Linked DNA regions of Homo sapiens: regions 1 and 2 are each linked to region 3. The links are contacts of gene promoters, found by promoter capture Hi-C in blood cells and fetal thymus (Javierre and others, 2016). All regions are on one chromosome and are shown on one strand. The core of a region is centred on a gene start or on the middle of the fragment in contact, and the rest is flanking DNA. Distances in the headings are between cores, read along the strand shown.

Region 1 (3,172 bases), core at 275-2,774, 950 kb before region 3:
TCCCTGATACTGGCACCACTGGCCTTATTCCTGCCTTTGTGGGCCACAGAGATCCAACCCCTCTTCCCACATACCAGGCCTCCAGCTCCTTCTCCTCTCTAGGAACCCAAAGTTTGAGTCTAGTCCTGGCTTCTTTATCCTTCCAGTCACCAATTAGAGCTCAGAAAGCAGGTCAAATAAGTTAGAATTTTTTTTTTAAGTTCTGGGATACATGTGCAGAACGTGCAGGTTTGTTACACAGCTATATATGTGCTGTGGTGGTTTGCTGCACCTATCAATCCATCATCTAGGTTTTAAGCCCCACATGCATTACGTATTTGTCCTAATGCTCTTCCTCCCCTTGGCCCCCATTCCCTGACAGGCCCCAGTGTGTGATGTTCCCCTCCCTGTGTCCACGCGTTCTCATTGTTCAACTCCCACTTATGAGTGAGAACATGCGGTGTTTGGTTTCTGTATGTTTACTGCATTACTATTTACAATAGCAAAGACTTGGAACCAACCCAAATGCCCACCAATGCTATCACTGGATTAAGAAAATGTGGCACATATATACCATGGACTACCATGCAGCCATAAAAAATTGAGTTCATGTCCTTTGCAGGGACATGCATGAAACTGGAAGCCATCACTCTCAGCAAACTAACATAAGTTAGAAATTTTAATTTATTTTTGTTTGAGACAGAATCTTGCTCTGTCACCCAGGCCGAGTACAGTGATGAGATCATGGCTCACTGCAGCCTCCACCTTCTAAGCTCAAGCAATCTTTCCACCTCAGCCTCTTGAGTAGCTTGGACTACAGGCACGTGCCACTATGCCTGGCTAATTTTTTGTTTTTTGTAGAGACAGGGGTCTCACCATGTTGCCGAGGCTGGTCTTGACCTCCTGGCCTCAAGTGATCCTCCCGCTTTTGCCTCTCAAAGCACTGGGGTTACAGGCATGAACCACCATGCCCAGCCAGTTAGACGTTTTTTGTTTTTTTGTTTGTTTGTTTGTTTTTTATGTGATGGAGTCTCGCTCTGTCACCCAGGCTAGAGTGTAGTGGCGCAATCTTGGCTCACTGCAACCTCTGCCTCCGAGTTCAAGCAATTCTCCTGCCTCAGCCTCCCGAATAGCTGGGATTACATGCGTGCGCCACCACGCCCGGCTAATCTTTGTATTTTTAGTGGAGATGGGGTTTCACCATATTGGTCAGGCTGGTCTTGAACTCCTGACCTCGCGATCTGCCTCCCTTGGGCTCCCAAAGTGCTGGGATTACAGGCGTGAGCCACCGTGCCCGGCCTTAGACATTTTTATATTTGGTTTGTGGCTGTGATCAAAGCCATTTGGGATGTCTGCCCAGCCCTACCCTCTTCATATGAGCACATCCAACCCTCAATTGCAGCCCTGCGCATAGGGTTCAGCTAAGCCACACCCAGATTCCTGACCCAAAGAAACAGTGAGATAATAAATGTTTTAGGCCTCTATACTTTGGGGTAATTTGTTACGCAACCAGAGATAAGTAATATATTGTCAAAACCAGGTAGGCTTTAATTAGTCTTTCCAGATGTCTGTTTCTTTCTTTGTGCTGGCTGGAGGCCTTTGGCTTTTATAGATTTCTTTTTTTTTTTTTTTTTTTTGAGACGGAGTTTCGCTCTTGTTGCCCAAGCTGCAGTGCAATGGCGTGATCTCAGCTCACTGCAACCTCTGCCTCCTGGGTTCAAGTGATTCTCCTGCCTCAGCCTCCTGAGTAGCTGGGATTACAGGTGCACGCCACCATGCCTGGCTAATTTTTGTATTTTTAGTAGAGATGGGGTTTCACCGTGTTGGTCAGGCTGATCTCAAACCCCTGACCTCATGATCGGCCCACCTCAGCCTCCCGAAGTGCTGGGATTACAGGTGTGAGCCACCATGCCTGGCCAGAAATTTTTTTTTAAGAGATGGGGTCTTTCTTTGATGCCCAGGCTGGAGTGGTGGGAGGATGACTTGAGCACAGGAGCCCAAGAGTAGCCTGGGCAACACAGGAAGACCTCGTTTCTACAAATTAAAAAAAAAAAAAAAAATTAGCTAGGCATGGTGCCTGTGGTCCCAACTACTCAAAAAGCTGAGGTGTGAGGACGGCTTGAACCTGGGAGTTCAAGGCTGCAGTGATTGCACCACTGCACTTCAGCCTGGGTGACAGTGGAGACCCTGTCTCAAACCAAACCAAACAAAACAAAACAAAACAAAAGAAGCTATTGGAGGGCCTTATAAGCTGCCTCAGAACCAAGGACTTCCTAACTTTCTCTTGTTTCTCCCCATCTCCCAAGCACAGGGAGGGGCTCTCTTTGGAAGTTCCCTTATTTGACTGATGAAAACTTCTTCCAAAAGAAATGCAGTTGTCTTAAGATGACTCCTCCCTAAGAATCTCATCAAATATCCAGGAAATATTAACCACTGGCAAAGAGAAAAGACTAAAAATTGGCATCATGTCCAAACAGACTTCATCTACTCCTCTCTGTGCAGCTTGGAGAGATTACATGGGAGACTTTATCTACATAATAAGACGGCCTTTGTTCACAATGAAGTTCTGCCCTCACCTTTCTGTCGCCTCCCCAAGAGCTCAGAGGAACTTTGTCCCAGGCCACTGTCTGTTCATTGGGCTTCATCAGTTCCCCTGAACATCATTCATTTCCCCTCAAAACTGCCTACATTCCCCATTTCTCTCTCCCCTAGGAAGACAGTATTTAACTCACAACCATCTGGTCCTTCTTTGAGTCCCACTTTTTTTTTTTTTTTTTTTTTTTTTTTTGAGACGGAGTCTCACTGTCGCCAGCGCTGGAGTGCAGTGGCGCAATCTCGGCTCACTGCAACCTCCGCCTCCCGGGTTCAAGCGATTCTCCTGCCTCAGCCTCCCAAGTAGCTGGCATTACAAGTCTCACATTTTATATGGCTCCCATGCTTACGCATAAATGTCTGTGCCCTTTCTTTTGTTAATCTGTCTATTGTCAGCTCATTTCAGTGAAACTTCAGAACGTGAAAGGGAAGTTTTCCCTTTGCCCTATGCCTTCCTTTCCCTGTATCAATTCCTTTGGCCCCACCAGAACTGGCCTGCATTTGGTATCTTTATAGAACAGCCTCTTTGTATCCCAGGCTGATGTTCAGGCTCCATCACTTGCCCTGTGCATTAAGTAGTAACAGTGAGACTCTACAAGCC
Region 2 (3,170 bases), core at 419-2,918, 550 kb before region 3:
AACGAAGGAGAGAAACCAGGTTCCAGGGTATGTGCATTGGGGCAGAAAAGCGGCAGCAACTGGTGGGCGTGGGGTTATTGAAATATTGGCAGGTTGGGGAGGGGACTGGTGGGACACAAATGGGAAGATGGGGTTGAGAGAGGTCCTGAAAAGGGGTTGAGGGGTTTTCACAGGAAAAAAAGGTTACTGGAGGGGAGGGTCTTCACGGCAAGGAGAGAGGAGCTTGGGTGAGAGGTCTCCATAGGGAAAATAGGAGATGGCTGGGATTTCCCCCGGGGAAAATGGGAAGGGGCTGGATATTGGGGGTCTCCAGAGGGAAAATGGGAGGTGTGAGTATCTCACTACAGGAAAGAGGGAATAAGTGGGCAAAAATGGGTGGGTGGTTGAAGCGGGGGTCTTGCCACAGGGAAACCACGGTGGCTGAAGATCTCCGTGGGTTAAGAAATGGAGGCCGAGAAGGTCTCCCCATGAAAACGGGTACCTAGGAAGAGCTCCAGAGAAAAAAGATGGATGAGGTTCCCCACGCGGGAAATGGGGCTTGGAGGGGGTTAATCTCTATGGGGAGGTCGGGGCGGGCAGTGGGGGAAGAGGCCACTGGGAGGTCCGAGTTAGCTGGCGGGGGGTCTCCACCCGGGAGGTCAAGGCGGGCAGTGGGGGAGGAGGTCACGGGGAGGTCCGTGTTGGCTGGTGGCGGGGGGTCTCCACCGGGAGATCCGGTTGACTGGCGGGCTGGGGGAGATCGGGGTTGGCGGAAGGGGGACGAGGGGTTTCATGGGGGAGATCAAGTTGGCCATGGGAGCGGTTCTCTGAGGGGAGGCCGGGGTCGGCCCGGGGGTGGGGGTCCCCGCACAGGCCCAGCCTCACCGTCCGCCAGGGCTTCACTGCACTCGAAGCTGATCTCGAACCGGAAGGGGCTGTGGAAAGGGCTCGGGTTCTCCAGGACCGCCACGTTCAGCACCGACACCTTGGCCATCGCCTCGCCTCGCCGCGCCGCAGCAGGGGCAGGGGCTGTGGCTGTGGCGGAGGCCGCGCCTGGGTCCGGTGGGGTCAGTGGGGTAGGGCTGACCAGGTCCACTCCCGCCTCTTCTCTCCGAGAACTGAAGTGCGCACCTAGTCCGCGCGCCGCCTTCAAATAGCCGGCCTCCGCCCTCTGGCCAATCACCGCCAACGCTCCCTGGCGGCGCGCGCACCCCCTCAGCCAGTCCTGGAGCGCCGATCGGCGCGCGCCCAGACTCCTCGGACCAATCAGCGGAGCTCCCTCTCCGCAGCGTGTGAGGAGGGCGAAACTATCTCCAAGCTTCTTAGCGTGTCCGCTGGAAACCAATCCCCAGCGTCTCCGACTTGGATGTCAACGGCGGGAATGGACGGAGTCACAGCGCCGGCCTCCTTCTGGCCAATCCTGAGGGTTCCCGCACCGGCGTGGCCCGCCCCTCGCCTCGCTTTTCCGGGAGATGCATCCCGCAGCGCGCAGCGCCGCCACCCGCCGAGCGGTGGCGCGCGGCGCTCGCTAAAGAAGGCGGGAAGGGCGGTGCTCGCACCCGAAGTGATTGGCAGGAGGGAGTGGGGCGGAGATAAAGAGGGTTTTCTGAGAGTTTATTGGCTGGATTGGTAATGGTGGCGGGAGCAGAAGGAGGCTCAGCTGGGGATTCGCTGGAGAGAAGCGGAAGTCGAGCGCCACCGCGGTGTTGGCGAGTGTGAAGAGAGAGGAGGAGCGTTTGCGGCCTCAGCGTCTGTCAACAGGTGAGCGTTTCCTGGAGCTTTTCTGAGTGGCTCCTGACCCTTGAGGTCCAGCGGCGCGGGAGTCCGTTGTGAACGTTGCGAACGTTCGGAGTGGCGGTCACGAGGCGCGCTCAGACCTCGGGAATCCGGCCGGGTTCGGATCCCGCTTTCGCCCCCGAGGGGTTCGGATCCCGCTCTCGCCCCCGAGGGGTTCGGATCCCGCTCTCGCCCCCGAGGGGTTCGGATCCCGCTCTCGCCCCCGAGGGGTTTGGATCCCTCTCTCGCCCCCTTGAGGGCTCTTGGGAGGTTTCAAGCGGACGGTACTGAAAATGGGAGTTCCAGTTCGGGGGCAGACCAGTGTTCAGAGTCCGGGCTCTGCTACTCAGCGCCCGAGGCAGCGCCTCCCCATTCAACGGGGGCCGTGGCAATTCCCTGACATGATTCATGACCACATAATACATCCGGAAACTTCTCTCCACCGCCTCCCGTCTGGGCCGTCGCCCCCGGCCTGGGAGACTCCAGGTCTCAGAGTCTCTGCCCCCACGGGCGATCAGTGCTGCCCAGTGGAAAAATAATGCCAGCCGCGCACCAAAATTAGGTGTAAAATTAACATTTTTTGGAAGCCACTTTTTTTTTTTTGAGATGGAATCTCGCGCTGTCACTCAGGCTGGAGTGCAATGGCGCGATCTCGGCTCACTGCAACCTCTACCTCCCGGGTTCAAGCGATTCTCCTGCCTCAGCCTCCTGAGTAGCTGGGATTACAGGTGCCCACCACCACAACCAGCTAATTTTTTTTCTGTATTTTCAGTAGAGACGGGGTTTCACCATGTTGGCCAGGCTGGTCTCGAACTCCTGACCTCAAGTGATCCGCCCGCCTCGGCCTTCCAGAGTGCTGGGATTACAGGCGTGAGCCACTGTGCCCGGCCATATCTTTTTTTATTATTATTTGTAATTTTAGAGGCTGGTCATGGAGGATTTCTTGAGGCCAGGAGTTCAAGATCAGCCTGGGCAACATAACAAGACCTCATATCTACAAAAAATAAAAGAATAAGCCAGGTGTGGTAGTGCATACCTGTAGTGTCTGCTACTCCTGAAGCTGAGGCAGGAGGATCTCTTGAGCCCAGAATGCTCCAGCCACTGCACTCCAGCCTGAGTGTCAGAGTGAGACCCTGTCTCTAAAAATTAAAATTAAATTTTAAAAAAGAAAGTTCAGTTTAGCTGTCTTGATAGCCGCAGTTGAGTGCTCCTGAGCCCGTGTGACAAGTGGCTCCTGTATTACTGGACAGCGAAGGTCAGAAACACATTTGACCAGGTCACTTCTCCGGATGAGAGCATTGTCTTTGAAACTCTATGCTTTGTCTCCTGTTAACCACCCAGCTCCAACTTCAAACCAGGCTAAGTAACCCTCTTTTTGTTAAAATTCTGACAAGCCACTCCCAGTGCAAAGCCTC
Region 3 (2,918 bases), core at 222-2,721:
TTAAATGTGAGTAATGTGTTGCACTGCAACATTGTGACAGTTACAACATCACTAGGTGATAAGAAATTTTCAGCTCCATTATAACCTTATGGGATCACAACTGTGTATGTGTTTCGTGGTTGACCAAAACCTTGTTATGTGGTGCATGACTGCACATGTGCTTGATATATAAAGAATACCAGGGAACTAGTGACAGTGGTTGTTTCAGGGGAGGAAAATTTAGGAATAGAGTGAGCCTCCCGTTTGAACTTTTCCCATAGGTATGTACTATGTATACTACATAATAAATAGTTTTTAAAAAGTCAGATCTATGTCTTAGATTCACACATCTTATTTTTAGTGAGAAGGGCAAGCTGTAGAAGAAACAAAAATACATCGTCCTATTTTTAGAATAAAGACAGTTAGTTGACCCGTGAACACCAAGGGTTTGAACTGTGGCTATCCCCTTATAGGTAGATTTTTTTCTACCTTTGTCCTCCTTGGGACAGCAAGACAAACCCCTCCCTTTCCTCAGCCTACTCAGGGTGAAGCTGACGATGAAGACGTTTATTTATGATCTTTACGATCACTTCCACGTAACGAAGAGTAAATATATTTTCTCTTCTTCATGATTTTCTTAATAACACTTTCTTTTCTCTGAGCTTAGTTTATTTTAAGAATATGGCATATAATATACAAAATATGTGTTAACTAACTTTATGTTATTGGTAAAGCTTCTGGTTAACAGTAGTCTATTAGTAGGTAGGTTTTGGGGGAGTCAAAAGAAGTGAATTTTCCACTGCACAGGGTGGCGCCCCAACTCCCGTTGCCTAAGGGTCAGCCGTATAAAAATATACAAAAACAATCTTAAGTATGGGTATATTTTTGTAGGGGATTGGATTAAGCCCATGGATAAAGGTGGAAGGGGTTGGGGAAAAGGAAGGAGAAAAGGGTAAGTTAAATATTGAGCATCCCTAAAGAGACCCGGGGAGGGGTCGGGTGTGCCCCTCTCAACCCTTGAAGCCCAGGTCCCCTCATCCCGCCTTCCGAATGCAAGTTCAGCTCCCATTCCCACCCCAAGCACAAGCCCCGCCCCATTTTTGCCCCTGAGGCGCACGACCCGCCCCTACTACCACCCTGCAAACCAAGGCCCCGCCCACTCCGCCATTGGGGTGCAAGCCCCGCCCATCAGCCATCGGAGGGCAAGCCACACTCCACCCCGCCCCCGCGCACAGGCCCCGCCCCACTTTTGCCCCGGGACCTAAGCCCCACCCCTATCCCTGTCTCTCGGACATAGGCTCCGCCCCCAGCACCACCCTCCATGCTCTGTGGGACCCCACTCCAGAGCCTAACCTCATCCCCCGGGTAAGAATACTAGAATTTCTCCTTGGAGGCTAAAGAAGACGTTAGTTTCTCTGCCGCCGCCTAAGGCTACCCTGGCCACAACAGCCTGAGCCACAGCCACTTCCGTTCCCGGCGGCCCCGAGACCGGAAGCGGAAGTGCGCGCGGCGGCGGCCGACGGCGGCTGAGCTGTGCTGCGCGGCGCGGCGCGGTGCGGCACGGCACGGTGGGAGTGTCTCCGGCTGGCTTGCAGGTGTGGCCCGGCCCCTCGGGAGGGCGGGGAGGGCGGGGAGGGCTCGGCTGGCGCGGGGAGGGACTGGAGGGCCTAGAACAGCTCCGCCTGTGTGAGGGGTTTCCTCCCTGCGATCAGCCGGTGGCCGGCGTGAGGCCCACACAGTCAGGGCCTCGCATCTGGGCGCCCGCCGCCCGGTCTCTCGCTCTCAGGTACCCCCCGTCCGGGCAGACAGGGCTGTCATCCTGTCAAAAGGGAAATCCCAAACAGTCCAGGTCCCACAGCTCAGAAATGTGGTGACACCGGCCCCAGCTCTCACCTGTCCTTCCCAATTTTTAGGGAAAGTGCATAAAGACGGCCCTACCTTGCCTACAGTATGCAAGATAACTGCGAATTAGTAATTCACGTTTTATTTGATATGATACTTAATATTATCTAGCTTTGCAACTGGAAAGTGAGGTCTGGGTCCACATGTGCAAACTGGTTTAATTGATTGGCCAAATTTACTTAAAAAATTGAATGCATCCTCCATTAAGGAATGAATTAGATGACGAGAGATTTCTTTTGGAGACTGACAATTTGAAGTCTTTTAGCTTAATATCTGTTAGCTTGGCTTTGCATCTCTTCCTTTTCCATAACTTTTTCTTTCTTCTTTTTTTTCTTTCTCATAAGAAAGCTTTTGGCCAGGCTTGGTGGCTCACTCCTATAATCCCAGCACTTTGGGAGGCCGAGGCGGGTGGATCACCTGAGGTCAGGAGTTTGAGACCAGCCTGGCCAACATGGTGAAACCCTGTCTTTACTAAAAATACACAAATTAGCCGAGCGTAGTGGTGGGCGCCTGTAATCCCAACTACTCGGGAGGCTGAGGCAGGAGAATCGCTTGAACCCCAGAGGCGGAGGTTGCAGTGAGCTGAGATTGTGCCACTGCACTCCAGCCTGGGTGACAGAGCAAGACTCCATCTCAAAAACAAAAACAACAACAAAAGGAGGAGTTCTTAATTTTTTTTGTTTTTGTTTTTCTTTATTTTCTATGTTTGAGACGACTTTTACTTCTGCTGTGGGCATCAAGTTTCTCACTGTTAGGTTAAGAAAAGCCGTTTCTCAGTTATTTCACAAATATTATTATCAAGAAAACCTAAGACTGTTATTCAGATCTTTTCAAGTTGGCTCCAGTCCTTCCCCCAAGCATGTGAATCACAGAGCTTCAAAACTAATGGAACTTCAGGGAAAAGACGATATAAACTTTGTTAATACTGGAAATTCAAATTGAGTTGGCCATAAGTGGGATGTCTTTTTTAATAATGGGGTTAAAGCTCGTGTCTACTGAGAAATCAGGAAAAAATTAACTCCAGAGGAAAATCATGC

What was found. The method cuts DNA at HindIII sites, captures the fragments that hold promoters and counts their contacts. A CHiCAGO score of 5 or more calls a contact.
Region 1: a fragment that was not itself captured here is called in contact with the fragment with the promoter of ZNF333 in region 3 in 1 of 17 cell types (naive CD4 T cells); the score reaches 5.3 in naive CD4 T cells.
Region 2: a contact is called between the fragment with the promoter of ADGRL1-AS1 here and the fragment with the promoter of ZNF333 in region 3, in 7 of 17 cell types (fetal thymus, naive CD8 T cells, naive CD4 T cells and 4 more). The highest score is 9.7, in fetal thymus.

The regions. Positions count from the first base shown.
Region 1 is chr19:13,739,556-13,742,727 of GRCh38, forward strand. It overlaps a transcript of YJU2B not described here. Among named protein-coding and RNA genes, the nearest start is that of YJU2B, 6.8 kb to the right of the region's middle. The HindIII fragment of the contact is 6,340 bases long and covers 1-3,172 here.
Region 2 is chr19:14,135,484-14,138,653 of GRCh38, forward strand. It overlaps ADGRL1-AS1 (ADGRL1 antisense RNA 1), which reads left to right and starts at 1,669. Exons shown (of 3, transcript NR_045214.1): 1 at 1,669-1,740. ASF1B (anti-silencing function 1B histone chaperone) reads right to left here and starts at 1,106. Exons shown (of 4, transcript NM_018154.3): 1 at 865-1,106. The coding sequence starts at 973. RefSeq lists a silencer at 872-921 and enhancers at 1,252-1,391, 1,469-2,095, 1,592-1,751. The HindIII fragment of the contact is 2,792 bases long and covers 1,296-3,170 here.
Region 3 is chr19:14,688,577-14,691,494 of GRCh38, forward strand. It overlaps ZNF333 (zinc finger protein 333), which reads left to right and starts at 1,472. Exons shown (of 12, transcript NM_032433.4): 1 at 1,472-1,574. RefSeq lists silencers at 1,066-1,115, 1,446-1,815. The HindIII fragment of the contact is 1,516 bases long and covers 712-2,227 here.